Linked DNA regions of Homo sapiens: regions 1, 2, 3, 4, 6 and 7 are each linked to region 5. The links are contacts of gene promoters, found by promoter capture Hi-C in blood cells and fetal thymus (Javierre and others, 2016). All regions are on one chromosome and are shown on one strand. The core of a region is centred on a gene start or on the middle of the fragment in contact, and the rest is flanking DNA. Distances in the headings are between cores, read along the strand shown.

Evidence for each region. The method cuts DNA at HindIII sites, captures the fragments that hold promoters and counts their contacts. A CHiCAGO score of 5 or more calls a contact.
Region 1: a contact is called between a fragment that was not itself captured here and the fragment with the promoter of FRMPD1 in region 5, in 1 of 17 cell types (M0 macrophages). The highest score is 5.2, in M0 macrophages.
Region 2: a fragment that was not itself captured here is called in contact with the fragment with the promoter of FRMPD1 in region 5 in 1 of 17 cell types (endothelial precursors); the score reaches 5.7 in endothelial precursors.
Region 3: a contact is called between a fragment that was not itself captured here and the fragment with the promoter of FRMPD1 in region 5, in 2 of 17 cell types (endothelial precursors and M2 macrophages). The highest score is 7.6, in endothelial precursors.
Region 4: a fragment that was not itself captured here is called in contact with the fragment with the promoter of FRMPD1 in region 5 in 1 of 17 cell types (naive B cells); the score reaches 5.1 in naive B cells.
Region 6: a fragment that was not itself captured here is called in contact with the fragment with the promoter of FRMPD1 in region 5 in 1 of 17 cell types (endothelial precursors); the score reaches 6.2 in endothelial precursors.
Region 7: a contact is called between a fragment that was not itself captured here and the fragment with the promoter of FRMPD1 in region 5, in 3 of 17 cell types (endothelial precursors, erythroblasts and M2 macrophages). The highest score is 5.9, in endothelial precursors.

The regions. Positions count from the first base shown.
Region 1 is chr9:38,281,254-38,284,748 of GRCh38, forward strand. No RefSeq gene overlaps it. Among named protein-coding and RNA genes, the nearest start is that of ALDH1B1, 110 kb to the right of the region's middle. The HindIII fragment of the contact is 1,644 bases long and covers 1,023-2,666 here.
Region 2 is chr9:38,304,563-38,307,762 of GRCh38, forward strand. No RefSeq gene overlaps it. Among named protein-coding and RNA genes, the nearest start is that of ALDH1B1, 87 kb to the right of the region's middle. The HindIII fragment of the contact is 977 bases long and covers 1,372-2,348 here.
Region 3 is chr9:38,371,965-38,375,424 of GRCh38, forward strand. It overlaps LOC107987065 (a long non-coding RNA gene), which reads left to right. Exons shown (of 3, transcript XR_001746670.2): 2 at 948-1,013. LOC105376040 (a long non-coding RNA gene) reads right to left here. Exons shown (of 4, transcript XR_929605.1): 2 at 3,309-3,460. Among named protein-coding and RNA genes, the nearest start is that of ALDH1B1, 19 kb to the right of the region's middle. The HindIII fragment of the contact is 1,538 bases long and covers 1,044-2,581 here.
Region 4 is chr9:36,901,427-36,904,895 of GRCh38, forward strand. All of the region lies in intron 7 of PAX5 (paired box 5), which reads right to left. Among named protein-coding and RNA genes, the nearest start is that of MIR4476, 9.6 kb to the left of the region's middle. The HindIII fragment of the contact is 1,144 bases long and covers 873-2,016 here.
Region 5 is chr9:37,649,567-37,652,995 of GRCh38, forward strand. FRMPD1 (FERM and PDZ domain containing 1) reads left to right here and starts at 1,388. Exons shown (of 16, transcript NM_014907.3): 1 at 1,388-1,528. RefSeq lists a silencer at 1,260-1,529. The HindIII fragment of the contact is 4,272 bases long and covers 1-3,429 here.
Region 6 is chr9:38,453,640-38,456,890 of GRCh38, forward strand. It overlaps LOC105376041 (a long non-coding RNA gene), which reads left to right. Exons shown (of 8, transcript XR_007061487.1): 5 at 2,479-2,554. It also overlaps the pseudogene ARMC8P1. Among named protein-coding and RNA genes, the nearest start is that of IGFBPL1, 31 kb to the left of the region's middle. The HindIII fragment of the contact is 597 bases long and covers 1,586-2,182 here.
Region 7 is chr9:38,352,150-38,355,608 of GRCh38, forward strand. The region is part of intron 1 of LOC107987065 (a long non-coding RNA gene); the gene reads left to right. It overlaps LOC105376040 (a long non-coding RNA gene), which reads right to left. Exons shown (of 4, transcript XR_929605.1): 4 at 2,744-2,783. Among named protein-coding and RNA genes, the nearest start is that of ALDH1B1, 39 kb to the right of the region's middle. The HindIII fragment of the contact is 911 bases long and covers 1,210-2,120 here.

The sequences.
Region 1 (3,495 bases), core at 595-3,094, 630 kb after region 5:
TCATGCAGTAAGGGCCAGGATCTGGAGTGAAAGGAAGGCTGGCTCGACCTGTTTTAAGTGGGGACCATCGGCACTGGGGATGTGAGGCTGGGGGGAGATCATTACACTTCTGGTTTACAGGTGAAATCCCAAGTCCCACTGTAGCAGCCACCTGGGCCACCCAGTAGTCTTCGGGGTTGGAGAAGATAAAACATTGGATCAGTGGTTCTCAGAGTCTGTTCCCTGGGGCCAGCAGTATCACGAGCACCTGGGAACTTGTTAGAAATGCAAATTCTTGAGCCCCTCTCCAGATGTGCTGATCAGAAACTCTGGTGGTGGAGCCCAGCACTCTGGGTATTCTGTAGCCCCCAGGTGCCGGATACATGGTAGAGTTTGAAAGCCACTGCATACAATGATAATTGTCTAGTGGCTTGAGGGTTTGGTAATCAGTGGCTGGTATTTTCAGCTTGTAGCAGGCAATCAGGTGTTATTGATTAGTTCAATAGGTTCTGGACTTTGTTTTATTTCACTATCTACTGCTTGATTTATTAATCCAACTGTTATTGACTTCTGATCCCATGGCACATCCCTTCTCCTGGCTCCAAACATAAGGTGTTTGCAAGCACCTATTTTGTAGCTGAAGCACGGGCCTTAATGTTAGTTGGTCTCAGTTTTCCCTCCTGTGAAATGAGCTGGGGAGTTGGCGGCATGAGTTCAGAGGATCTGGGTGCTGGTGACTGTTCTGAGGGGGCTTATGAACTAGTCTTGCCTTGTGGCTGGTGGGGGCAGAGGCTGAGCAGAGGGCAGAGGGCAGGCAAGGAAGCACTAGGGACCAAACACCAGCTCTGCCACAAGAACAGCGCAAGCCACGCGCCGAGTGCATACAGAAGGAGCAGAGCTTCATTCTAACGCGGCGGCGAGGTGCCTGAGTTCCCTGTGATCTCCATCAGCCCCACGAAGCCACCCCAAATAAACGCACAATCTAAGCAAACCCAGTGAGTGAGTTGTGCAAACACAGCTTCCAGACAAGTCTCCCAGGACCAAGCTTCCTGCTCTTTTCAATATGGCACTGACCTTAAGCCCTCCTGTGGAAATTCTGGAGTTGCCGCTACTGAGGGATCCTGCCACGGCTTCTGGGAAGAGGGGGCGTAACACAGAGGCCTCAGGAGGAGAGCAGAGGTCTTCCAGGCAGAAGGAGCAGCTTGAGCAAAGGCATGGGGGCCTGAGAAAGTGGTACACACTCTGAGGGGCAGTGAGAAGACCACTGCACTGGCACATGAGGCATAGGAAGGAGGGTGGATAAGGCTGAAGGCAGAGCAGAGAAAGAACTGTAAGTGCCCTACATTTATCTTCTAAGCCATTTTTTTGCTCTACTTCCTTAGCAGCCAAATGCTTTTAAAAAATGATGGCTTACATCAATCCTTTATTATAAAACAGATCATAATGGCTAACAGCCATTGACGACTTTCTCTATGCCTTACATGGATGGATTCCCTAAATTCTCACAATCTCCCTAGTCCACAGTCAGTATAGCCAGGCACGTGGTGTGGTGTCACACCACTGTGTGCTCAAGCACTTACCACACAGAGCAGAAGTGGGGCTGGGGGCTGGCACCTCTGGCTCAGACATCCCTTCCCCCAACAGGGGGGCATCAGGCTCTTCCTTGTGACTTGGTGGCTCCAGGGAGAAGGGGTTCAGACTGGCGTTCTGATCTGCCCGGGGATTTTGAAGGAAAGAACTTGGTCACTGTGTGGAGAGAGAGGGATGGGAGAGGGAGGGAGAGCACAAGGGTCCCACTGAAACAGAAGAGGGCTGCGCAAGGCAGAGGCAGGTGCCAGTGTTGGGGCAGAGTCCCAAAGGCCTTTTTACAGCCCATTTTGTTCCAAGCCCTGGCCTGGAGGTCAGGGATCCAGCCTCTAAGTCCAATCCTGCCGCTGACTCTCTCTGTGGCCTTGAAAAAGACCCCATCCCTCTCTGGGGTCTGTTTCCCGATTGTACCATGACTGGGTTGGACTAGGTCAGCAGTTTCCAATCATTTCATAAGTAATATTCAAACACATTTATAGGTAGAAATCCATTACATAAAACTGACAAGAGTGACATTATTATAAATTTATGTTTCAGTTCAAATTTATAAGCACTACTGATTATAAAGTCAACCAATGAGAATAATGAGACTATTTCAATAACCCAAATAATTTGAAGTTGGACATTATAAATAATAGTTGCAATTCAGTGTCAGCATCAATATCCAATTTATTTCAGTATTTTGATTTGGTTTTTCTACATTATTAAAATCCTGATCCACCCTGAAAAGTAGTGGCAAATGGTAACATATTTTCAAAGCACTTTACCTTACTATCTCAGAATATTCACCAATTAAATGGATCCAGAAACTTCAAGAGGAACAATAGGCAATTATTTTGTTTCAAGGTTGAATTATTAACAATACCTAAGTCTTGCTCTTATTTTTTAAATGGTGAGTATTACATTGGGAGGGAGATGATGAGTAGGTTTCTTACTTTAAATGTTCATTGTTTGGCAGAAAAAATACTTTTCAAATGTAGCTGGAAGGATGTTTAGGGTTGTCATTTGAGGAAATCTCATGCCTCAGTGCCTGTGTCTGACAGCTCTTCACTGAAACTTTCTGAACAGTCAAATTTGTTCTGTTTTGCCTGTTAAGTCTAAGCTTCAGGATTCAATTTTATCCTAAATGCATTATCTAGTATTGTAAACAGGGTAACAGTGTGACCTTACATTGCTAAACGGAGTCCATTTAAGTGAACAAAAGTCAGACTAGTGGAGCCTAGCACTTACAGTAAGCACTGAAGGGTTCTTCCAGTATGATAACATCAAGACTTAGGGCATTGCCCCCAGTCCTTGGTTTTGGCCCAGCCCTTCTGTGGTGTCGAGCAGGTCTCTAGCTGTGCTGGAAAGTTAAGTGAGTGCAGCATGCAAGTCACCTTGCAGTGGGCTCACATGGACAGTGTGATGTGCAAGTTCATGTCCAGGCCTGAATTACCCAAGGGAAGCAGCGTAAGCCTCCTTCCCAGGCAATGGCGCGTCCACTCAGAATCCACATGGAGGCCCCAGGCAGGGCCGGAGAAGCTCTGTCTTGAGATCCACGCAGAATTGCATCAGCACATCAGCACGAGTGCGCAGGTTGGCAGGGGCCCCCTGGACTAGCATTTGGGAGCCTGCACAGCATTTTTGTTTCAAGATTTAAAATAAAGAATATCTATTTAGGCAATGCTTGGTGAAGTTACTAAAGGCCTTCTTTGGATCCCTGGGGGCTCCAAACATCCCAGTTTGGAAATGGAAAGCCTGGGCAGACATCGGAGGGCTGTGCATGCCTCCATGGGCATCAGCCTTGACAATGAGGGAGTCTATTTTATCCTCCCATCCCCCAGCCCTGGATGTTTCCAGGAGTAGAAAACCAAGCCCTCCCCAGCCCCGCACCCCCAGCCTGTGGGATTCCCTTCTACAAAAGTCATTACTGCCTCTCTTGGTCGTCTG
Region 2 (3,200 bases), core at 610-3,109, 660 kb after region 5:
TTTTTGAGTCAGAGTCTTGCTCTGTCACCCAGGCTGGAGTGCAGGGCTGGAGTGCAGCGGCACGATCTTGGCTCACTGCATGCACCGCCTCCCGGGTTCACGCCATTCTCCTGCCTCAGCCTCCTGTGTAGCTGAGACTACAGGAGCCCACCACCATGCCTGGCAAATTTTTTGTATTTTTGGTAGAGATGGGGTTTCATCGTGTTAGCCAGGAGGGTCTCCATCTCCTGACCTCATGATCCACCTGCCTCGGCCTCCCAAAGTGTTGGGATTACAGGCGTGAGCCACCGCGCCTGGCCCATGCGTGTTCTTACTGGCATCTAGATGATGAATCCTTTTCAGAAGGTTTCAATTCACTTTGCCCAGATCCATCAGAAGAATCACTATCTATGGCATCTATAGCCTTGTGAAAGATATTTCTTAAATAACAAGAATTGAAATTCAAAATTACTCCTTGATCCATGAGCTGCAGAATGGATGTTGGGTTAGGCATGAAAACAACATTCATTTTCTTGTATATCTCCATCAGAGCTCTTGGGTGACCAGGTGCAGAGTCAAGGAGCAGTAATATTTTGAAAGGAATCTTTTCTTGAGGAGTAGGTCTCAACTGTGAACTTAAAATAGTAAACCATGCTGTAAACAGATATGTTGTTATCTAGGCCTTGTTCTTCCATCTAAAGAGCACAGACAGAATAGATTCAGCATGATTCTCAAGGGCCCTAGGATTTTCAGAATGGCAAATGAGCAGTGGCTTCAACTTAAAGTAACCAGCTGTATTAGCCTCTAATGAAAGAGTCAGCTTGTCCTCTGAAGCTTTGAAGCCAGGCATTGACTTCTCCTCTGTGGCTATGAAAGTGTTAGATGGGATCTTCTTCCAGTATAAGGCTGTTTCATCTGCACTGAAAATCTGTTGTATAGCATTGCCACCTTCATCAATGATCTTAGTTAGACCTTCTGGATAACTCTCTGCAGCTTCCATGTCAGCACCTGCTGTTTCAACTTGCATTTTTATGTTATGGAGATCACTTCTTTCACTCAACTTTATGTGCCAACTTCTGCTAGCTTACAATTTTTCTTCTGTAATTTTCTCCCCTTTCTCAGCCTTCACAGAGTTGAAGAGAGTTAAGGCCTTGTCCTGGGTTAGGCTTTGGCTTAAGGAAATCTTGTGGCTGGTTTGATCTTCTATCCAGACCACTCAAGTGTTCTCCTTATCAGCAATAAGGCTCTTTTACTCCTTATTATTCATGTGTTCACTGGAGTAGCACTTCTCATTTCCCTTCAAGAACTTTTCCTTTGCATTCACAACCTGGCTGTTGGCACAAGAGCTCTAGCTTTTGACTGATGTCAGCTTTCGACATGCCTTCCTCACTAAGCTTGATCATTGCTAGCTTTTGATTTCAAAAGAGAGATGTTCATTCAATTCTTCCTTTCACTTGAACATTTAGAGGTCATTATAGGGTTATTAATTGACCTAACTTCAATATGGTTGTGTCTCAGGGAATAGGGAGGCCTGAAGAGAGGGAGAGAGAGAGGGTGAGTGGAGCAGTCAAAACAGTCACACACAGTCAACACACAAAATTCATCAATTAAGTTTGCCATCTTATATAGGTGCAGTTTGTGGTGTCCCAAAACAATTACAATAAAAACATCAAAAATCACTAATCACAGATCACAATTACAGATATATTAATAATGAAAATATTTGAAATTTTGCTAGAAATGCCATCATGTACCATGGAGACACAAAGTGAGCACATGTTGCTTGAAAAATAGTGCCAATAGACTCGCTAGACACAGGGTTGCCACAAACCTTCAGTTTGTTTTTTTTTAAAAAGCAATATTTGTGAAGTGCAATAAAGTGAAGCATAATGAAATGACATATGTCTGTAGTAACACGTGGAGGACAGAGGAGGGGCCAGAAAAGACTGAGAAGTGACATCCAGCAAGGTGGGGAGCTACTGGAGAGCATGTCTTCCTGGAGGTCAAGGGAAGAAAGTCTTTAGAAAAGGGAATGTTTAGTGGTGTCGAATATGGTTGAGAAGTCATGGAAGATGATGCAAAATTTACCATGATCCTTTGAGGTGTGAAAGTTAAAGTGAGGTCATTGCAGGACAGTTCTCTGGGTCGCCTTGGACCAACGCAATTCCTTCCTCTTTTTGCTTGTAATTCTCAAGCATAACTGTAGAATGTGCTGGGAATGCAATATCCTGAGATAGAGAGGAGGCCAGGAGCAGCCTGGGCCTTGTTCCTATCCCTCCTAGGGAATGTAATATCTTGAGTTAGGGAGGAACTGCCTGGGACAGTCCGGGCTCTGTTCCTCTCTCCCCTGGAAGCAGGATGTCCATCAAAGCTTTGCCCAGTGAGTCCTGTTGCCCCTGAGGTCTATAACCCAGAGTGGGCTGCCTTTCGGGGTCTCTCAGGTTTTATGCAAAGTGGGAAACGTGCAGGCAAGACCCTATCTACCCCATGCAGTTATCTTGAGCCTTGGGGTACCAGCTTACAATGAATCCTAGGTTTCTCTTGTCCCTTGCTGCCTACCTGTAAGTAATAAACTTGTTGCACGTGAGTGTGTTCTGTTTCACCGGACTCGGGTGTTGGTAACACTGCAGTCCAAGATGCAGTGGGAGGAGTGCTTGGACTCCTGTTCCTGGTGGTTGGTGCAGTGATGGTCTCTGCTGCCCTCCATGCAGTGGGAGGCCTCCCTTGGGGCTAATTGTTAGTGAACCTGCCTCCCAGTCATCTCCTTCCCAGTGTTTAGTGTTGCCAGGCTTTCCCCGCAATCTGGCAGGTGCGAATGGCCTGTTATTGTTGTTTTAAACTCCCCTGAGATTTATACAGCTATTTTCCTTGAGATCCTGGGCAGGGATTAAGTAGGAAGATGGTATTTAGGGGCTGAAGGTGGACACTGAAGGTGCCCTCACTGATCTTGACTCTAGGTTTGTCCAGGGTCAGATGGTGGAGGAGGTATGCAGGAGCCTCCTATCTGCTTTAAGTAATTCTGTGTTTCAGGAGGTGAACACCAGAAGGTATTTCAATCTTCTTCACCTGTCTTATCATTAGTGGAGTGTCCTCTCAGATTTAAGCAGAAAGTTTTCTGTCCACCTGAGTCATCTGTATGCCTGCAAGCAATGCTGTGGCTTCATGGTTCCATTAGTGAAAATTTGTAGTTGGGGTGGAGGAGGGTACTATCAATTGCCATT
Region 3 (3,460 bases), core at 563-3,062, 720 kb after region 5:
AATCCCTCAAAGGTGGTGCGTGGAGCCTAGACCTGGGACCCAGGAGACCTGGATCAGTTCCTGCCTCTTCCACAGACATGCTATGTGACCACAGACTGGTGCCTTCATCACTCTGCGTCTCAAAACTCCTGTCTGGCCTTGAGGTTAATGGTTTCCAAACACTTTATGTTATTTATTCTTCATACCTACCTTAGGAGATAAGTACTGTTGATATCCCCATTTCACAGATATAAGAACTGAGGCACAGAGAGGTTAAGTTAACCTTGGCATGCCCAAGGTTATACATCTAGTTAGAGAGGCAGGGTCAGGATTCAGTTCCAGCTCTGTCTGACACCAGAACCTCAGAAGAGTCTCCACCCAGGAGGACCTCAGTGCAGAAACAGAGAGGCAGGGTGGGCACGGTGAGACCCAGATAGGGTTGCCAGCCTGACAGATTTGAGGAGAAAGAAAAGGACTGGGAAATTGGGAGGGGATGGGAGAATCCCTTTCTCATCAAGGCAGCTGCAAAGGGAGGAACTGGTGGGGACTAGAGGCAGTGGGGGGCACAGGGAGTGGCAGGGAGGCAGTGCCAGGGGAAAAGGGGGGTCCTTTTGAGAATGTCTGGGACCTCACAGGTACAGAAAGAAGCCTGAGCTAGAGTTAGGGGCTTCAGCCTCTAGCTATGCCTGAAGGGTGCTGTGACCTGGGCAGATTCCTTTCTGTTCCTGGGTCTCAGTTTCCTCCTTCGTACCATGGAGGGTGAGTCCAGGAACTCTTCCAGGCCCTCCTTTGGGTCTCCAGCCTATAACTGAGGGCCCAGCCCAGAGCAGATGCCTGAAAATTGCTTACAGAATAGTGGCGTGAGCAGCTGAATGGAGGGGGGTCAGTGGTGGGGCAAGGGCTGGCTTAATGGAGTCACGCCCTTGGATGTGATGCTGATTAGTATCCTGATTATTGTCTACTTACAGCCCTGCTTCTCTTCACTGGCTGATGTGCAGACATTTATTAGTAAATCTTCACGGCGGTCTAGGGAGGTAAGTAGGGAGGGGGAAGCCTGTTTTACAAGCTTTGGGGGCGAGTATTGGGTGGGAGTGGAGGAATCAAAAAGACTTGAACCATTTGCTGGAGCCAATTTTGAGCTCTCCAGCAAAAAGAGATGCTGGAAACGCTCTTGTCTAATTCTCAGCTGCTCTGCCATTTGAATTCTCTCCACTCGAGAGATTGAAAACAGGCAGCTACAGATAAAATCTGTATTTTATTTGGCCTGCAAAGGGTGTTTAAAAATTTGTGGTTAATATTTAAATACAGGGAAATTTGGAGCATCCAACTCATCCACAGATATCAGGGTATAAATGGATACATCCCCTTTGAAAAGCTGATTGACATTTTCTACTATAAGCAGAACACATGCGTGCCTGGTGACCCAGCAATTCCACTCCTAGGTATGCACCCAACAGAAATGCGTACACACAGCCATCAAAAGACGTTCAAAAATGTTTATGGCAGCATGATTTGTAACAGACTGAAACTGGAAACATCCTAAATGGCCAGCAACAGGAGTGGATGAATTAATTGTGGTATAGTCACACTAAGGATTCTGTACAGTAACAAGGATGAAAATTAGCCAGGCATGGCTAATTTTATTAACTGTATAGTTAGTTATTAATTAGTAGTTATTAGTGATTATGAACTATAGTTGTTGACTATATAGTTATAGTTATTAACTATAGTTGCAGATGATGTCAATGACTTGTGGACAGATAGCATCTACAGTGTGGAATGCTGAACAAAGGAATCATTCCTATATTATTCACTGTATAGTTAATAATAGCCATGCTGTACATTAGGTCTCCAGAACTTTTTCATCTGCAAGTTTGTACCTTTCGGCCAACATTGCCCCATTTCCCCTACCCCTCACCGCTGGTATAACCACCCTTCTAGTTTCTGTTTCTGTGAGTTCACCTTTTTAAGATTCCACATATGAGTGAGATCATGCAGTATTGATCTGTCTTTCTGTGTGATGGCTAGATGGATAAAGCAACTTTGGTACAACAGTGCCCCCTTATCCACGTTTTCACTTTTTACAGTTTCAGTTACCCTGCAGTCAACCATAGTATGAAAGTATTAAATAGAAAATTCCAAAAATAAACAATTCATAAGTTTTAAACTGCGTGATGAAATCTTGTACTGTCCTGCTCTGTCCCACCTGGGATGTGAATCATCCCTTTGTTCAGCATTCCACATTGGAGATGCTACCTGCCCAGTTGTCATCAACATCGTCTGCTCTTGACATCCAACCACTAACATACTTATGGCTCAGTGATGCAGAATCCACCAAAGCAGATGAAGTGGGCTTGTATATTAAACACGCAATGGGCTGCTCTTTACATTCACAAATAAGAATCATCTCCCTGACTTATTTCACTTAGCATAATGTGCCCCAGGTCCACACGTGCTGTCACAAACGGCAGGAGTGCCCTCTTTTTAAAGGCTGAATAATATTCTGTTGTTTATATCTATAGTAGTCCCCCTTATCCTCCCCATTGTTCTTTTTCAAAAAAATTCGATAAATTATGATAGCTTTAAAATATATTTAACATCAAGCTTTAAAAAGAAATTTGCCTGTCAGAGCCAATGATCTGAGAATTACTATAAACACGTTATTTACTATAAAATTACATGCTAATTACTATAAACATGTAATCATCAGATTACAAAATAATCCCGATTTAGGAACAGGTAGGATGAAAGTGTTAATACATTCCAAGACCCCTAGTGGATGCCTGAAACCTCAATAGTACCGAACTCAACATAGCTTATGGTTTTCCCTATATGTAAATACCTAAAATAAAGTTTAATTTATAAATTAGGCACAGTAAAAGATTAACAACAATAGCTAGTAATAAAATAGAACAATTTTAACAATATACAGTAATCAAAGTTATGTGAATGTGGCCTCTCTTCTCTCTCTCTCAAAATATATTCCTGGCCTTTGAACACATTTCCGTTTACAACCTCCATCCTACAGTGTCCTTGCCAATGGTTTATCTGGCTTCTGTTTGCACATGCTGGTGACAGGGGGCTCATTCTCTCCCCAAGTGGTGCCTTCCATCATGGGACCATTTTGCTAGTTAGAAAGTGCTTTCTGAAGCTGACTTGAAATGTAACAGACTCACAGACTCTCACAAAGAGATGGGAACTTGGAGGTTTCCCAGCCCAGAAGTCCTTATCCTTTTCACCCTCAGAGACCTTTTCCTTACCCACCCCCTTGGGCTTGTTGCTGGAATATATTTTGTCTGCCTCTTAAGTTGCATTTATTACTCACTCACCTGAGAGAATGTATTTCCAAGTGACAGCATCCTCTGGAATATTTCAACTACAAAAGGCCTTTGACTGAGCGCTGTTCATCGAGTCCAGCCCCGGCTTTGCAAATAAACAGCTGACACCAAGAGAGGAGAAGCAACACGGCTGAGGCCACAGG
Region 4 (3,469 bases), core at 195-2,694, 750 kb before region 5:
CATGCCTCTCCTTATCATTTCACCTTTTAAAAACATTTACTGAGCACTTTTGATGAGCCAAGAGCCTAGCTTAGAAACCCACGTGCATGATTTCATTTAACCCTAGAACAACCCTCAGAACAACCCAATGAGGAGAGTGTTAGCCTCACTTCCAGGTGAGGAAATGGCGTATCAGAAAATGTAAGTGTCCTTCCCAGGGTCAGCCGCTAAAAGGTAGGGGGGTCTGGGATTGGAGCCCAGCGCTGTCCGACCCCACGCCCTAAACACCTAATGGTGATGCTCTGTTGCTTCACCCCAGGGAGCTCCTGTCACCAGCCCAGGTGGCATAACCCTGGCCAAGGAACATCGCCTTGCTGAGCCTCAGCTTCCTCTTCTGTAAAACGAGGGTCAAGTCTTTCCCTGCTGCCCTCCCAAGATGGTAGGAGGATCTGAAAAATAACAGATGTAAAATCACTTAGTAAACTGTAGAGAGTGGTGCACATGCAAAGAAGGCATTAGCATACTTTCAGGGCTTGTCTCACCAAACAATTTCCTTGCTCACATTAGAATGAAAGGCCTTCTATCTGCTGCTTCTTTTAGAGTAAGGGTGAGGGAGGGCTCCCATCCCCTCCCTAGACCAGGGTGTCCCTGTGATTTTTAAATTCACTATCTAGCTGTCCCTATCCCCCCTCCCAAAACACAATTGTGATAGTCAAGCAAAGAAAGGTGAGAGAAAGAAGAAAATCCATAAAGGCTCGGCAAAGCGGTGGCGGTGGAATTCTCCAGCTCCTGACCACCAGTTAGTGACGTCAGGATTTATAACTGTATTAAATGGTCTGACAGGCAGCCTTGATATATCAGTTCCCCCTTCTTCCCAAATCACAGACAATAAAAGCTTTGGCAGTGAAAGTCATTCATCATCATAAAGACCTGAGACATCCCAGTCATCAATTTCACTCACATCCTTAATACACTGGAGAGAGTGCAGGAGTTGAGCACCTCAAAAAGGGAGGAGGAAGAAAACACGAAGGAAGATTGAACAGGAATAATTACAAAGGTCAAAGAAGGGATTCATCCGGGAGGGTGCCGTGGGCAGAGCCTGTCCCTGCTGGAAGTGTGCTCAGGCCACAGAGAAACTAGGCCACTGATGGGCCCAGCCCTTAGAGAGGCCCTGAAGCCCAGGTGGAGAGGGGCCAAAATAGGCTGCAGGATCCGAGTGGGGAGTGTTGGGGGCATGGGAAGCCACACCCTGGCTCCATGGCCTTAGGCTGGGTTTCACCAGGGCCTTTTATTCCATCAGCCTCATTAGCACAAGACGGATTTTAAAATAATGAAGCCACAGGTATCTGTTTGAAATCTACCCCCACCCACACTGGCACAGACGGCTATTTGTGCCAACCATGGTTTTCTTTTGGGCAACACCTTTTGAGCAACTATAACATTCGGGGCTGATATTAGTGGTTGTGAAAGACCCCATAAGGCTGCCAATCCAGCTAGAAAAGAGTAGCTGCCCAGAGCCCTAAGTGCAGCCTCTGGCTTCACCCCTCCCCTTCCCCCAAATCCAGTCACCTGGATCACACCTGCTGGCCTGCCCCGGGACCTGGGCCGAGGTTCCCCACCCCTCACCACCAGCACTTGGCATCCTTCCTCCTCTCAGGCAGGCCGGGCAATGGAGGATAAGAAAGCAGGAACTCCATGGGGTGCAGGTGTGAAGAACTGGGGACTTCACGACTTGTTCCTGAAGAGAACCAGACCTAAGTGGCATGATCCTTACCCTGGCACTTGGCCTTCTCTCTCCCAGACCAAGGAAGGAGGAAGAAAGTCTGTTTAAGAAAAGCAGTTGGCTGGGAAGGGTGGCTCACATATGTGGTCCCGGCTACTCAGGAGGCTGAGGTGGGAGCATCACTTGAGCCCAGGAATTTGAGACCAACCTGGGCAACAGAGTGAGACCCCATCTCTAAAATATTTGTTTTTAAGTAATGACAATTATCTTTCTTATGCTTTTATTTTTTGCTTGAAAGCAAAAGAACAGAAGAAAGCTTTGGTCTAGGTGGGGAGTTTCTTGAAGCACAGGGCTCCCCACAATGGACAACACACAGCCTGAGGGCTGGGAGGCTGCACAGCAGGGGCTGAGAGCCCTGAGGCTGCTGGGGCATGTCCAGGTGGCCTGGCCCAGGCAGGAACATGAAAGAATACACAGCATGTTTCCCAAGAAAGAAGGAGCAATCATACCTGCTGTGTCTGCCCATCCACTCACCAAACCTTCACCCAGGACCTGCTAAGGCCTGGTCAGGCTGCATGAGGTCTGTCTGAGCAGGAGGCTGACCTAAGGGGATGCCAGCTTTTCAGGGGTGAGTCAACCCACTACCCTTCAATCAGATATCACCCAAGAAGCCCCATCAGTCCCGGCCCCTACACGTGGCCTGAAATCCACCTATCAGCTCTGTTCTTCAGATAGGGGTCTGTCCAACTCAGACTTCCTCTGGCACACTTCCAGGCTGCCATGACTCACCAGGCTTTATGAGAATAGTGTGGCTTAGAGGTCAAGTGTGTGGTCTGTGGAGTCTGACTGCCGGCATTTAAAACCTGGCTACACCACTTACAAGCTGTGTGACCTTGAGCAAGTTTCTATGCTTCTCTGTGCCTCAGTTACTGCACCAGTGAAATGAGGATGAGAAGAGTGACTCCCACAAAGGGTTGTTATGCAGATTAGACAAGCTATTAATAAGTCAAGGGCTTAGAACAATGCATGGTGCAGAGGGAGTGGATGGGAGCATCAGCTATCACTCCTGCTGGTGACTCTTGGCTCATGGGACCCTAGCTTGGGCCTGCCTCTCTAGCTGTTCAGGATTGAAACCAACTCTGGGGGAAGAGCTCCCTAGTCCCCTATCCTACACACCAGCCCCCTAAATAGGCTGCTGGGCCACACTATCCTTAACATGGGCATGTGACCCCATCTTGAACCTGGGTTCACAGAGGCATACGAAAGGAACTAATGGGTCTGAAAAGGCAAACACTTCTCTGGATGGGTTCATCCAGACAGGCAGCAGGTGCCCCTAAGCATTCATGCCAGAAACAACCTTACTAAACATTTATAGATGATCTCAGGGTGGGAGTAGAAGTTCTATGGCCTCACAGATAATGAAAATAAAAGCTAATAGAGATAAATTAGAGAGAGATTTTTTTCCTGAGCTGTGAACTTGGCCAAGAAAAAAAAAAGGCAGCAGACTAGTAGAAGCTAATGCATTTGGGAAGAAATAATAATTATGATAATATCTTGAATTCAAATGTGACTTTATGCTAATCAAAGATATGTATGTGAGTGTGTGAATCATGTCAATAACCTTGACAATGACCTAGAAGGGTGGAGTGCTGCGTGATTAGTAACGACCAATCATAGCAGACAGCTCGTTGGTTTATTAATTCATCCATTCATTCATTCAATAAACACTTCCTGAGTACATACTATATTCCAAGTCCCATACTAGGC
Region 5 (3,429 bases), core at 138-2,637:
ATTTGGAAATGAAGGTCACAAAGGAGGAGCACCTGCCTTCATCCAGACGATGTTGGCTCCAAAGTGCTGCTAGTCTTCCCCCACCGCCCTTGGATGAAGGATGCACTTGTTAACATCTGCCTGTGCACCATCCCCAGAATGATCTAACATCCCAGTCTGATGGTGCCTCAACCCTACTCAGAACTCCTCCCATGAACCTGCCAGTGCACTGGGAACACGGTGCAAACTCCTTGACCAGGAATTGGCCCCTGCTGACTCCCCTGCTTTATGTCTCAACTCCTGCCACTCCCTCTGTGGGATCTCTCTCATCTTGGGGTCTTTGTTCCTGTGGTCTCAACCTGAAAGGCTCTCTCCACACTCCTCCCTTTCACTGGCCAATTCCACTGGCCTTTCAGGTTTCCATTTAGAGCATGCCCTCTCCAGGAGGCCTTCACTCAGTCAGTGCAGGCCTGAGTGGTGCCCTTGGCCCCGTGGGATTGGGTTATTGTTACAGGAACTGGACTGTATTTTAATAGTCCTAGACTGTACATTCCATGAGGACAGGGACTGCTTTATTAAAGGTGTATTGTATCTCCAGTGTCTAATGCAGGATATGGACCTCGTAGGTGTTCAGTAGAGTTCAGCACGGAAAATAGTGCACAGACACATGCATTTGGGTATCATGCTCAGAGAGGCGGTAGGACCAGAACCAGGGGAGTGGGTGAGACGGCTCAGGGGGTCAGAAAAGGGCTGAGTGCAGAGTCCCAGGGCGCTCCGGCATTTTAGAGCTTCTGGTTTGAGGAACCCTCAAGGAGACCGAGGGAGTGGCTGGAGAGGGCCGAGGAAAGCTAGGAGAACACAGTTTCCCAGCGCGGAAGGAGTTTACAGAGACAGGGGAGGTGGTCCACAGTGCCTACCGTGGGCCCACGCTCTCCCTCTCCCTTCAGCCGAACACCTGCGGGGCGTGGGGGTCAGGGGGCGAGTCCCCCAGGGCTCCCCGTAGCTGGGGCTCTTCCTGGGGAAAAGGAGGCGTGAGAAGGGGGTCGTTTTGGGAACTCTTCTGGGTTCCAGTTCTGGCCCAACCACCGCTGGTCCGGGTGACCTTGGGGAGTCCCTTTCCTCTCCCAGCCTCAGTCTCCCCCCTGGGTACTCAGCGGACGCTGCGTGCCCCGGCGGTGAGCTGAGGCAGGCGGCGGAGGCAGGGCCCGGGTGGGAGCGGGACCGCCCACTGCGGCGGGCCGGGACCTCGGAGCCAGCGGAGGCGGCGCGCGGGGCTCCTCCCCCGGGGCGGGGGTCGCGGCGCCGGCAGCTGGCGGCCGCGCAGCTGCAGCCTCAGCACCTGCCGCCGCCAGACGGCGCGGGCGCGGCCCGGCCCGGCCAACCCCTCCGGCTGCAGCCTCGGCGCGGGAGGCGGAGCCCGAGCCGAGCCCGAGCAGCGCTGCTTCCCGAGCCTTGGCCGCGACCGTGCCCGCCGCTGGGCGGGGCCGCCCTTCTCCGAGAGCGTCAGCCCGCTAGGTCCTTGTCCGCGCGGGCGGCACCTCCTCTGCAGGTAAGGGAGGGGTCCTGGCACCGCAAAGTTTTGGGGAGACGGCCTGTCCCCACACCCCGGGCCTGCGCCTCGGCTTCCTCCGCGCCGCCCTCCGCCTGCACCACCAGTCCCGGGTGACCCGCGCCCGCCTCCGGTCCTCGTGTCCCCAAGCCCGGCTCGGGGGCGCGTCCGTGGGCTAGCTCAGGACCTGCCATCGTGAACTGTTTGCACAGTAGCGATGTGTGCTTAAGTTTCCGAGATCTGCATGGTGTAGTGAGTGGAAACAGCGGCAACGCGGGAGGGGGAGAGACCTGGGTTCAGGTGCGGCCGCGGCCAGCGCCAACTTTCTGAGTGACCTCAGACCAACCCTCTCTGTCCGTCCTCGATGGCCACACCTGAACCAGAAGGGGTTCGCCAGGGACGATCAGCTGCAGTGCCAATGCCTGTGTTGTCATTTTTTGAGTAGAGGGGCATCCCTGAGTGTCTCAGCTCCAGAACTCATTGCGTGTGGAGAGGAATGAGCCACAGAAGTCAGTCTCCAGGGTCGCGTCGCTAACTTGCAGCAGCTTTGACTGAGCTTTAGTGGGGGCGTTGAGTCAGCCTCGGGAAGCAGGGGATGCCCCTAGGGTTAGGAGTCAGGACTCTGGCTTCTGGTGGCTCCTCTGCCATACACCCACTGTCTGTGTGACCTTGGGCAAGTGCCCCCTGCTTTTGCCACCTATAAAATAGGGTGGAAGTCGTGTTCACTAGTTGTTCGCTGTCTCTTTCAGCTGTAAACTCTGGAGAAGCGGAACCTCCGGATCTCTGCATTTAGTCAGTTTGGGTGGAGGCAATATTTCACCAAGAATCCATCTAGCACTTGCAAATGAACGTTTAGAAAATAAAGGAGGCATTTGCAGTTTGCTTTGGAAGTCCCAAAATAGACATGGGGAGGATTGGTGAACGCTCAGTTCGCCTTCTTCAGTGCTTTGGACCGTCATGAAATATTCAACGACATAATGATTTGTTTTCAAAGTGGCTTATAGATCAGGAAGCGTTTCTGTTTGTGAGTCGGTTATTTTTGTAAAAACCTCAGAATGGTTGTTTGGGAAAAAAAAATAATGCACTGTTCTAGGGGTCCTGACCTAGAGGCCAGCATCTACTTGTTTCTAGTCTAAGATGATGGTTGAGATGATTTCCAATCAAGACAATTTCGGGCATCCTTTGGTCGGTGTTGAGTATGGGTACGGTTAAGGAGCCAAGTTCATCTTTTCCAGGACTGGTGCATTCTGGCACAGTCACAGCAAAACAAGCACGAGGTAGTTAACTGTGATATGCTAGAAAGTGAAATTTATTCTTTTGCCCAATATCTTGTTCCCCTTGTGCTGCAATTAGTGGCTCCCCAGTGTGTGGGTGAAACGCATTACCACGAAAGGATTCTCACAGAAGTGATTTTATGATTTTATTTCCTTCCTCGACATCCTGGTTTTAAGTTTCTAGCATTATGAAATCAGAGAGCTGGTGAGGGTGTGCTTGGTGACCAGAGCAGAGTTGTGGTACCTAAGTTTGTCTTTCCTGAATGAGACCCCATCCTTGAAGCTAATTTGTCCAGAGCCTTTTATCTCTCTGACGCATTCAAATGCCACCAGTCTTTTCCCTCTTCATTCTCTATTGGTTCATCAAGCACTTTCTCACTACTCATTCGAGAGGACACAAACATGAAAATTACCAACAGGCCCTACCCTCAAGGAGCTTAGGTTCTGTTGGGGAATAGAGAGGCTTGTGCCACAGGATCTTCATTGTGGGCTTTATCGCCTGGGATTCCTGTGAACACTAAGGAGGGTGAATTCCAAGTGGAGATATTGGAGAAGGCTTTACAATGGAAGGTGGAGGAAGAAGAGGATTTCAACAGGTGGTGAGGAATAGAAAGGCTATGTGTAGGT
Region 6 (3,251 bases), core at 634-3,133, 800 kb after region 5:
TCCATCATATTTTCAGTCTCAGGGCTTTTCTTCTGAATGTCTTCATCATTTGCTCTAAGAGAGTCGTAGAGATTGAATGCAGCCTGGCAGAGTTCATGAGCATGTTTTAAATCATGATCAAGCCTTTTACTATCAGTGATGGCACTCAATGAGTTGGGATACTTGAAATAGTCAGCAAACATGGCGATGAGGTGATCAGTTACACTAGCGATTCTCTGTAGCTCAATATCTGGTTCAATCAGATAGGCAAGTGTCTCAGCTCCTTTAACTCTCTCCTCTAGTAATCTCTTCTTACTGCATGTTTGAACCAAATAAGGCAATGTCTTTAATACAGTTGTTATCTGTCTGAATTGCTCCAGCTGTATACATGTAAGTTAAACATTTTGCTGATGTAAGCTGCATCTCAATATGCTTATCCCTCTGTAACATCGTCACAAAAATCTGTGATAACAATTCTCCATCAACTAAAACATTTACCAGGGTAAAACTGAGAAACATTTCAGTGCTTGCATTTGAACTTTGTAGAAAATGAGGTTAGTAGGTGAGCAATATTCTTAACTGCACCACGGCTAAATAAAATTGTTTGATGATCTGGCCCCTTTACAGCAGTGTGAGACGATCCGACCGATGTACTCCTGGATATAGTGGAACCTGCTAAGCAGTGCCATGAGGTGCGGTGTCACTGTGGCATCTGTAAACAGTAGCTCCTTTGGAGTGACAGGACTGGAGAATTCCAGTAACTTTCATTCATGGTCTGAGAGGAAGCTCATGCAGATTGGGGTCTCCAACAGGCACACCATCTTGAGCCTTCCCGTTTGGCTGCTCTCATTCTTTTTTATTCTCATTTTCTTTTATTTTTTATTCTCATTTTCTTTTCTGACTAGGTTATTTCAAAAGACCTGTCTTAAAGTTTCAGAATTCTTTTTCCTCCTTCCTCTTATCCTCCTTTTCCTCCTCTTCCTCCTTCTCCTGTGGTCTGTTGCCAGCCCCATTCTGCTTCCACTTCTTGTACTATGGGTATTGAGCACATCCTGAGTGCTCTTACAGTCTGGGGCCATGATGGCTGATGCCTTTACTCTGATCTAGTCCCAGTTGCTCTCTATCTTTCAGGGTCTTCTGGTAATTTCCATGTCCCTGATAGAGCCCCTTCTTGCTTTCTAGTATGGTTATGCATTCTCTCTCTCTCTCTTTCTCTTTCTTTCTCCTCCCTTCCTTCCCTTTCTTCCTTCCTTTTTTTCTTCCTTCCTTCCTTTCTTCCTTTCTTTCTTTCTTTCTTTTTTCTTTCTCTTTCTTTCTTTCCTTCCTTCCTTCTCTTTCTTTCTCTCTCTCTTTCTTTCTTTCTTTCTTTCCTTCCTTCCTTCTTTCTTTCTTATCATTTTGAGGGTTTTGTATGGGATGAGGAGACTGGTATATATACTCTGTTTACCTCCCTAAAAGCAGAAGTCTGACTTTTACAGTTCTATCACATATCTGACAGTTTGGGTCTCATCCACCCCCTCCCCACCACTTATCAGATATTTCAGATCCATGGTTAGACATAACTGTGGAGCACTGGCATTTTAAAGACTTACTGGGGAATATGCCAAGCTTATGGAATCCCCAGAGGAGTCCTCTTCTCTGAGACGTCTGAGGGAACAGTAGGTGCTGTCTAGGGAAAAAAGGTCAGCAGATGGCCGGCTGGCTGGTGGATGGTGTAGGAGTTGGGAAAAGCATGAACAAAAATGTGGACATATATGATAGAGTGTGTTGTGGTGGCCTTGTGGGGATCAGAGCAGAAAGAACAAAGTGTGGTGGGAGTCCCAGAAAGGAGGCATCTCTTTGAAGAGAAGCCGTAACACTACTGCCATGTGTTTTAGACATGAGACAATGACAGTCCTGTTCCACAGATAGTGGGGGCTGGAGAGAACAGAGTCTGCAGCCTGTAGTCCAGTAATCTCTCTCCTGCCCCAACAGCCCAGCAGTGGCTCAGGTGTGAGCTGATGTTTCTTGACCTTGACCAGTGCTAATTTCTTGTGAAGGATGCTTTAGTCTCAGGGCCCCTCACTCACACAGGACCCTTCCAAGGCTCTGGGAGAGTGGGAAGAACCCTGATTAGGTGTTTACATGGTCATATGTCTCCCTTAAAATATGAAAAAGTAAGACATTTTGTAGTATTGCTTTAAAAACATGCCCAAATTATATAAGCTTTTAGCCCCACAGAACTGGATTCTGCCCCTAAATGAAGGACTTAGTTTCAGTTAGCAGAGAAGTTGGATAAATAATCAAGCTGAAGAAAAAAGTATGAAAGATTATTCCACTTAGGGAAGACACACTACAGGTGAGCAGCCTTGGCTCTCAGAAAGTGAAATTTAAAAAGATCAGATGGTCTTAGCGGATGGTCTTAGGCCAAACTTCTTGACAGTGATGTTCAAGACTAAAGTGTGAATGACAACAGCAATGACTGATGATATGAATGTGATGTTTTTGGCCATTTTGCAGGACCAGGCAGTTAAATGGCACTTGTACCAGCTCGGTGGACATGGAGCTCTTCCTTCATTATTCCCTCATCCCATCAGTAAGTAAAGGCAGGGGAAGGGTGAGGAGGGCAGGAAAGGGCAGCTGGGCTGCTGCCAAACACAGATTCCCAAAGAGACCTGAGTAGATCAGAGGAAAGAGATCAGCTGAGTTTCCTTCTAAAATGTCTTACATTATATACCAAAAATATGGCAGAAGAAGGCTTTGTGGGCCCGAGAATCAGGCATATGGACTTTTAGGAGAGTGAAACAGGCTTTTCCAATGAAGTAATGATGGCTCTGAGGTCAGTTGGAAGATGTAGTTAAGGATATTGCAGACAGAAGGGGAGAGCACATGCAGAGGCTCTGGGGAGGGAGGGAGAAGGCAGAGTGGGAAGAGCTGAGAAGTTCAGCCATGGCTGGAGTGAGGAATTGAGGCAGAGAGGTCTGGGGAGGTGGGCGGGGCAGGCCAGGCAGAGCCCTTTGGGGCTCTGTGTTTAGTTTTGCCTTCATTCTAAGTACAGTAGGAAATAATGGAAGTGTTTCCAGCATGAAGATGGTGTGATCAGATTTATGTTTTTAAATGATCTCTCTGGTTGCAATGCGGAGATCGAGTTGGAGGTGGGCAAGAGATGAGGCAGGAAGACCAACTGGGAGACTTGCAGGGATCCAGGTGAGACGTGATTTTATCACATCCTAGATGATGATGTCAACTCCAGAAGTTCAGGAGGTGAAAACAATAGGACTTGTAATGGGCTG
Region 7 (3,459 bases), core at 415-2,914, 700 kb after region 5:
ACTTGGGGTGTCCATGTTCTACCACGTACAGGGAGGAACAGGGGATGTTCATTCAAAGACAGGAGATCGGAGTCCCTCTGCAGAGGGAAGCAGACAAGAGCTGAAGAGGGTGCCTTGCTTTCCTATTGGCTTTCCACTTCCTGTTTCTAGTCCTTCTGGAGATGTGGCCCAATTTAGCCCCTGGATTTCATGAGATTCCTTGTAACAAATCTCCTCACTGCCACTCCCTGTCCTCCAGCTAGCTGAGAAAGATTTCTATTATTTACAGTGCGGACTTTGAGCCATGGCCTGCCTAAGCCCTGGGTGCCCTGGGGAGGTTTGTGTGCTACCCTTCCAGGGTTCAGCACAGGGAGGGTATGCAAAGGGTCCTTTTTAATCTTGGACTTTGACCCCACTCCTGTCCTGTATCCTGTCAGTCTGTAAAATGCAGGAGTGGGCCTGTCAGCTGCCCTGAGAGCCCTCTCAGCTCTGCGGCTCTCTGCAATCAGTCCCACGCATGGTGCACACAGTGGGAACTTGCTGACTGCTCATAGCATGGGGTGGAGGCTGTCCTGAGAATTGTGCCAGAGGATGGTCTGAGGACAGTGGGCAAACCCCAAACACTGTCATGTCTAGAGGAAAGGAGACTGAGAAGAGCCCAAGTCAGCTCCCCTAGGCAACCAGGAAACAATTTGCAAGATGGAATTCAACAAGCAATGCCAACAAGATCATAATGACCATATTTATGGGAGAACGTGGAGGCCCGCGTGCGGGTTTTCATTATCATGTGTATAAATGTGATGGCTCTGTGCAGCCAGCCTCCCGCTCCAGGCGGCAGCTGTTGGCTGGTGCATGGTAATTTGATGTAAATTGTCCCCAAATATGGTAGTTCCCTCCTCTGCCAGGGGAGTTTGAAGTCACAAACCTGGAGATGTTGGCAGCAGATGTTTTCTTACTCCTCCGCAGGCTGCTGGTATTGTGGAAAAGGATAACAAACCCAGAGACAATGCTTACCTGCACCACCTCTGGTGTGCCTGCTGTGAGACCTGCAGCACACGCGCCACCCCTCTGAGCCTGTTTCCACATCTGTAACATAGGCACAATGTCCTGTCAGGGTTACTTTGAGGAGTAGAAGAGATATACCCAGAGCATCCAGTACAGTGCTTTTATTAATATTCTTCTTTGGGACCTCGGTGGTGCCAGTTGTAGGAGCTGGGCAGTCAGTGCCCAAGCTTGTCTTCTAGTCCTAAATGGTGGGCTCCCCCAGGCAGAAAACAGGAAGAGCAACATGATTAAAATAAAAGTGAAAGTTCTAGGGAGAAACCTTAGTCTAAGGACAGACTAAGGTTTAATTCAAGAGCTCACTGGAATTTGTAAGCAAAACATCAATACCCCAATATGTAAATGAGCAAAGGGTTCAAACAGACAATTCACACCGGAGAAAGACAAATAACAATCCAACACAAAGAAAAATGTCTTTCCCCCCTCTTTTGCTTTACTTTTCTTTAATCCTCGGTGCAAGATATCAAATTAAAACAACCTCGAGATGGCTTTATTCCCACAAAATAAAAAAATATGTATATTAAAATGAGTTTCTAGCTGAAGTGATACACTCCGCTGGGGAGGTAAAACTTATCCTGTAGCAGACATTTTGCAAGGCGATCTAATAATATGTACCAAAAGTCAAATCAAGATAAATGATCCAGGCATCTCACTAATGTGAATTTCTCCTGAGGAGATTATTCAACAGGAGGAAAACGCCAAATCAACAAAGATGCCGTGAAAACATTTGAAAAGCGAGGTATGCATGCGTCAGTGGAAGATGGGGAAGCCATCCATGAGGTTCCACACAGAATACCCTGAAGTGCTTAAAAGGGTAGTTGTGTTTTGAGGATTAGGCATAGCATGTGGAACAATGTTTACAATGTATTTTTAATTTAAAAAAGGAGCACAAAAGGCTATTTATAGCATGATGGAAACTATACACATGTGACTGTATGACGCAAATGGTGCCTCCTTGCAAAGGATGAGACATTGAGAGGGGTGCGCTGTCCAGCACAGAGGGAGACCCCCGGGAGGCATGAGATCTCTGTCTCTCAGTCCCAAAGGTCATCTCAGAGCAGCAGCAGCAGCAGCAGACAAGCTTTGAGAGGTCCCAGAAAGCAGGCCTAGCACATGAGATGGAACTCTTTTGGGGGGCAGGTGGCAGCTCAGCTCAGGGAAGAGCCTTCTTGTGGTCAGTGACATGGGCTGGCCCCTGAGGTAGTGAGCTTTCAGGGGCTGGAGGTGTGCAAGCAAAGGCTGGAGTAGAGCTGGGCAGCTGGAATGATGTCACCTAGGATGGTTAAATGATATTAATCACATGTCTACTCATACCAGCCCATCTAGCCAAATATCCCTGTATTAGGCCATTCTTGCATTGCTATAAAGAAATACATGAGACAGGGTATTTTATAAAGAAAAGAGGTTTCATTGGCTCACAGTTCTTCAGGCTTTACAGGATGCAGGATGCTGGCATCTGCTCAGCTTCAGGGAAGGCCTCAGGAAACTTACAATCATGGCAGAAGGCACAGGGGGAGCAGGCACGTCACACAGTGGGAGGAGAAGCCAGCAAGAGACAGGGTAGAGGTGCCACACGCTTTTAAATGAACAGATATCTCAGGAGAACTCACTCACTATCGCGAGAACAGCACCAAGGGGACGGTGCTAGGCCTGCTTTTTGGGCCCCTCAAAGCTTGTCTGCTGCTGCTGCTGCTGCTGCTGCTGCTGCTGCTGCTGCTGCTGCTCTGAGATGACCTTTGGGACTGAAGGACAGAAAAGCCATCACAAAAAATCCAACTTAATGACCCAATCACCTCCCACCAGGCTCACCTCCAACATTAGGTATGAAAATTCAACATGAGATTTGGTGGGGACACAGATCCAAACCATAGCAATCCCTAAAAGGGAAACAGAGTAAGCCCATTCATTCATGGAACACAGGGAAGAAAGAGGGAGAGGAAGAAGGAAGGGGAGGGAGGGAGGGAATGAGGGAGAGAGCAAAGGAGAAAAGAGAGGAAGAGATGGAGGGAGGGAGGGGGAGAAGGAGGGAGGAAGAGAAGGCAAGGCCTGTCACATGCTAAGCAGGTATCTAATCCCTTTGTAAACACTGTCAGAAATTTATCTTCCTAATTGAAAAGCCCATGCGGGCTGGTTAATCCAGTCCATGTTAATGAGACCAAAACACATTAAAGTAGATATTGACTCCAGTCGTCAGAGAGCCAGGATTGAGGACACCAGGGGGAATATATTGACAAAAGTGAGGCTGGGGTCAGCCTTGGCCCCACGGACATTATCCTGCTGCTCCCTTGCTCAAACCACCCCACAAAGAGACCCAGTCATCCACCCAGGGCCTGCAGGATTTTCATTTCTTATGGGGAGAAAGTGCTACTTCCATGATGGAAGCCATTGGCCCCCTTAAATGGAAGAAAGTGGCCTTAA